Regions from separate parts of the Homo sapiens genome. Here region 1 is linked to region 2. Evidence: promoter capture Hi-C in human tissues and cell types (Jung and others, 2019). All regions are on one chromosome and are shown on one strand. Each heading gives the region's core, a stretch centred on a gene start or on the middle of the fragment in contact. The rest is flanking DNA. Distances are from core to core; before and after follow the strand shown. Region 1 overlaps WASF3 (WASP family member 3). Region 2 holds the start of RNF6 (ring finger protein 6).

Evidence for each region. The method cuts DNA at HindIII sites, captures the fragments that hold promoters and counts their contacts. A contact is called where the count stands out against the background at its distance.
Region 1: a contact is called between a fragment that was not itself captured here and the fragment with the promoter of RNF6 in region 2, in 2 of the 25 tissues and cell types used here (dorsolateral prefrontal cortex and hippocampus).

What each region holds. Positions count from the first base shown.
Region 1 is chr13:26,587,558-26,590,257 of GRCh38, forward strand. All of the region lies in intron 1 of WASF3 (WASP family member 3), which reads left to right. Among named protein-coding and RNA genes, the nearest start is that of WASF3, 31 kb to the left of the region's middle. The HindIII fragment of the contact is 3,775 bases long and covers 1-2,700 here.
Region 2 is chr13:26,220,938-26,223,637 of GRCh38, forward strand. It overlaps RNF6 (ring finger protein 6), which reads right to left and starts at 1,377. Exons shown (of 5, transcript NM_005977.4): 1 at 1,066-1,377; 2 at 311-393. RefSeq lists enhancers at 149-1,030, 1,031-1,912, 1,058-1,437 and a silencer at 558-607. The HindIII fragment of the contact is 8,375 bases long and covers 1-2,700 here.

The sequences.
Region 1 (2,700 bases), core at 181-2,680, 370 kb after region 2:
GTGCTTTGAAAGCTTAAATTATTTGTGCTGTCATAATTGACTATTATGATTGAAATAAGGATGTATATCTTCTTTGCTTTTTGAGTGTTGCTAGATTGAGAGCTGCTGGACAGAATGATGGGTTCATGGGAGAAGACAATCAAGGGGGTGGTAATTCTCTAAAGTCAAACTTGACATTTTGAAGGGCACATCAGTCTGTAGCTTGTATAATTCTGTAACAAATTGGAAAATAATGGAACAAATGAAGAGGAAAAATTGGTCTTCATCTGTTGGTGAATGTCAGTCACTATTAAATTAAAATGAGTTTTTAAAATGAAGAGACCAAAAGTTTTTTTTGTCTCTTTTGGAAAGTTACATTGAGAATTCATTGATTTATGATTGCTATAGGACTTAAAAAGAAAAAAGACTAAAAAATCCAAAACCAAATCCTAAAGAAAAGTTTACCAGCAACTCCATAATCCCATCAAGAATAATATTCTGAAGTAGAGGGCAAGGTTTGGAATTGGTTGACTCTAGTTACACAAGACTCAGTCTATTAAATAACTGTAAATAATGTTCTTAAGCAGAAGTAAATGTGATAAATCAGATAAGCTGATAGAAATTACTATTCTTCAAATCAGAAAGATGAGAAGGAAGGTTAGGAAAAACAAGAATATAAGCAAAAAATAACCCTAGAGTGTAAGTCTGAAAAATTCAGAGTGGGAGTTGGTTTATTGAATCCTCAAATGCTGTTTGTTTGTATGCTAAATGGAAATAGAGGCAGCATAACTTAATGTGATGTGAGGTTTATGTTTTCACTGTTTAAAAACACAACATGACCAGACCAAATCAGAACCACAGAGTCCCAATTCCAGATTTCTGGGAGGGAAACCTGGCCCATTTTAGGTAGTGTCTGTCCCCATTCAGTCAGCTGTGGCCAGGAGGTTGGGGTAAGAGATTAAACCTTACTTGTGTTTTTACCAAAGTCAAATAGTATCCCCAAATCGGCTTCTGTTTCAGTTATCATCACAGATTACATTTTAGGAAATGTGTATATATTTTTCTTCTGGATTCTAATTTGATCTTGTCGAACGTTTTGTAGTTTTAAAATGCGTAACAGTTTACTTCCTCCAGTAAAGTGTCAGAGAGTACCTGTGTCCCTCCCCATCCTGGCCAACACCGGGATTTTTCATATGTTTAATCTTTGCTCATCTAACAAGTTAAAATGGTATGGCATTGCAGCTCTAATTTGTATTTCTTCTATAATTTATTTATTTTTTTAAGACAGTCTCACTCTGTCACCCAGGCTGGAGCGCAGTGGCATGATTATGGCTCACTGCAGCCTTGACCTCCTGGGCTCAAGTGATTCTCCCACCTCAGCCTCCCAAGTGGCTGGGGCCACAGGCACACACCACCACACCCAGCTATTTTTTTTTTGGTAGAGATGGCGTTTCACCATGTTGCCGAGGCTAGTCTCAAACTCTTGGGCTCAAATGACCCTCTTGCCTCAGTCTCTCAAAGTGCTGGGATTATAGGCACGAGCTACTGTGCCTGGCCCTGTATTTCTTTATATTGCTTGAGGTTGAGCATTCTTCCATGTCTGCTTTTCAAATACTCAGTAGATGGATAGTTACTTCGTTCCTTTCTGTTTTTGTTCAACCAAATAGGTAGACTGTGGGGCATTTTGTGAGAGTATTAGTTTGGAAGAAGTTTCAACTTGTTCTATCAGACATGAAGTTTAGCACTAAAAATGGTTCCTCTCAGAACTGGGTAATGTGGAGTGGAGGGGGCAGTGCCTGGAGAGCATTGAAGGAAGAAGTGGCCACTGAACAGGGTGTCATGTTGGGAATTGCTGTGATTGCAAGATATCAGAACTTTACTGCAAATTGAGCCCAGCAGGGATGGGCAACCATATGGCTTAGAAAGTGACTTATGTAGGCAAGTGGTAAAGTCTTACTGAGGTTTAGTGATGCAAGCCTGATGTGGCATCGTCAATAGATGCATTTGTTTGAGGAGTCTTGCTGTTTTGGCTTTAGTTGAATGTTAAGAATAAAATTGGTACCATGTTAATACTTTTAGAATGATTTTTGACTATATCTAGTATTTAAAGCTTTTCTTTAGTTATTTCTCCAAAGCACAACAGAGTTTGGCAGATTTATGTGTGAACTTAAAATAAAATAAAAGATAATGCTGTTAGTGTAGTTTGGGGTGTAGGATACCTTCTGCCTCTGAGGGAATGTTAGACCTCATGCTTTGGATTGTTTTGAACAGAGGTAAACATACTCAATTTGACTAGATGTATCTGTAGATTTTAATGTTAGTGAGCAGTGCTGTCCTGCTTCTTGTGTTAGTTTCTTGAATGGCCACCCCCCATTGCTGGACTTACGCCAGGGCAGAAGAAGGTTCACCTCATGAGCTCAGTGTACAGGAAGGAATGGAAAACATGAACATGCTTTTGCTTTTCTATGTGTAACTTCCCCTTCCCCTTTGAAACCAATTCTTTTGGAAAGCTGCAACTGAAGACCCATATCTGAATAGCATTCTAACAGTATTTCTCATTAATATGCTTTGTCAGTCCTCAGTTTGTAAGACATTGTCAGAATGTTCTTGGTTTGAAGCCTGGATGCTTTCATTTCCCATCGCGCTAATTTCCATCCTGTTAATTTTTTATTCGTGACCCTCTGCTGAGAGGCCCCCCCAACACCTGTTAAATCACAGAGA
Region 2 (2,700 bases), core at 127-2,626:
TACAAATTCAAGGATTTTTTTCACTGTGGTTATTTTATTATGTCATTTTGAACAAATGACCTAGTAACATTATCCACTCAAATATGAATTAACACTACTAAAAACTCAAGATCTCTATCTTCAGATTAAGACCATAATTAGCAAAGAGCATATTTCGTAGGTACAGCAATAATAGGATTTTTGTAATAAATAATTTTACAAGTTGAAGCCTATCATAAAATCAAGTTACCCTAATATTATTTAAAACTTGAGCTTCTCCTTAAAGGTAATTTTCTTATACAGTTAATCACAATGAAAACAAAGCGAATACCTTATTTTCCTTTCAACACGCTTTTAACATATGCCATGGTATCCATCCTTCAATTGTTTGTGCCTTTTTTGAGAGCTGCCCATCTGAAGCAATAAAAGAGAGTTGAATAATTCAATAAACTGTTTCTTTAAAGGCCAGGAACGGGTGGTAGTCTCCCCACTCTGCTGCAAAGCCAAAGCAAATTCTCCAGTGGATTTTGTTAGACACATCTAGAAAATTAGATCCCCATACAATTAGGTCACGAAAACCTCCCGCAAGGCCCCTACCTTCCGCAACAAACTTAGGCCTTTCGTCCTACACTGTCACTGTTCCTGGGTTTACGCCTCCTCTCTCAAAGGCCTTCCTTCCTATCCCGTTCCCATTCGGATGTTACCAGGGTTAGGCGTCTCCGGCTTACTTCTAAACCTTGACTTTCTTGCCACCCCCGCCCTCCGTCCCGCTACTGGTTTCTTTCCCGGCCGTTGCGACGGAAGCTCGCGCCGGGGGACGATCCCCACTACGATAAATAAAGTGGGCTCAAGAGGCCCAACCAACCTCTTCCCAACCGAGCCTCAAGTAACGCTTCCCTTAGAGACCTAGATTCTCACAAGGAAGCAGGTGATAGACGGTGCATCCCAACCAATCACCAGCCAGCGGAGCGCAATAAGAAGGCAGTTAACCAATCGGAGAAGAGATGGGTGGCTCGAAGGATGGCCTGCTTTCCCCGGCGTCTCCAGGAAGTAGTGGTGGGACCCAGATCTTTCCCTCGAGCCCACCTCTCCAGGTCTTGGGCCTTCGCCCTCCTGTCCGGAGAACGTGTGCTGTGGGCGGCCGTTCTCTCGGGTGCTGGAGGCTGTGGTTGGGAGGCGGGATAGGCTTGCCGCCGCGCCTCCGGAGCCCGCTGTGCCCTCGAATTGGCCACTGAGGAGAGAAGCCGGAAGCCCGTGCTGCAGCGTGGGGTCGTCCAGCTGGAGGGGATACTCGGGAGGAAGAACGGCAGGCCCCAGCCCTTCTTTCCCGACAGCCACGCCGCCCACTTGGCGGCGGGGAGTCGCTCCGCAGCCGGCCCGGAGCTCGCCCGTGCAACTGAAAACTGCGTCCGTCGGGAGCTAGGGTGCCTGGCGTCCCGCGTTCCGCCCTCTTGCGCCGCCCTTACAGTGCCTCCTCCTCGAGGCCAAATGCCCGGCCGCTCAGCGCTCGTGGCAGCCGCGTAGTTGCAGAGACACGGTCTGCTTTCCAGGCTTGGGAAGTCCCAGCACTTAACTCTGCGCGTCGGTGTCGCTCGTTTGCCAGCCAGACTATAAAGTGCACCCAACGGTGTATGCGTCTCTTTACTTCCGGGTGTAACGTACTACCCAGCCAGGCCCTTTCCCTTGCTGTGCTTTGGAACCTGGAAATTACAAACCCTAATAAATTCTGAAGTCTGTCTGTCTGTCTATCTCTATTTGAGACAAGGTCTCATCCTGTCGCCCAGGCTAGAGCGATCGTAGCTCACTGCAGCCTCCAGCGATCCTCCCTCCTCATCCCAGTAGCTGGAACTACAGGCGCTTGCCATTAATTTCACATTTTTTCTTTTGTAGAGACGGGGGTCTCGCTATGTTGCCCAGGCTGGTTTCGTACTCGGCCTCAAGCAATCCTCTCACCTCAGCAAAATGGGATTACAGGCATGAGGCACCGCACCCCACTATATTTTGTGTTTTTTCACCTTCCCGCTAGGAAAGCAGTTTGAAACTCCCAACATTCCTCCCTCTGATTTTATTTCTGAGATGTGAGGCTTACTAAACTTACCTCACCGTTAGTTAAGATGCTGAGTAGGTCTCTGTCTAACCTGGTATAGTCCCCTTTCCTGACATCCCTACCATCTGATGACTTCATCACTGGAGAGTGCTCACAATGCCGTTACTTGTTATTCTTCCGTTTGTTCTTTCATTTCTGCATTAACTTTTGAGGAACTACCATATCCCCATTATTATGCTGGGCACCTGGATAACAAGCTACATGCAGTCCTTAGCATCAATGAGCTACCAGTGTAGTAAGGATCTATGGACAAGTGTTTAAAATAAGCATATGGATATGGATACTAAAATGGAAATATATAAAACAGCCTAGAAAGCCCTTCCAGATCTTTCTTCTGCTTACATTTACAGGCTGTTGTCTTGGCACTCCGAAACTGCTTGAAGTTCCGCCACAAGATATGGGAACTCCTAAGCAACCCCCAACTCCACTTTTACCTAATTTCCTCTGTCTCCCAAAACTCAGCTCAGTTCTCATCTTTAAGGAATTTTTCCTGATACCTCTGAAATAACACCCTTACCTCACCCTCCAGCCCGATATTTACACATAAAACTAAGCAAATGTCCCTTTTGGGGGCTCCCATACTCCCTCTATATATAAAACCCTATTTTAGCATG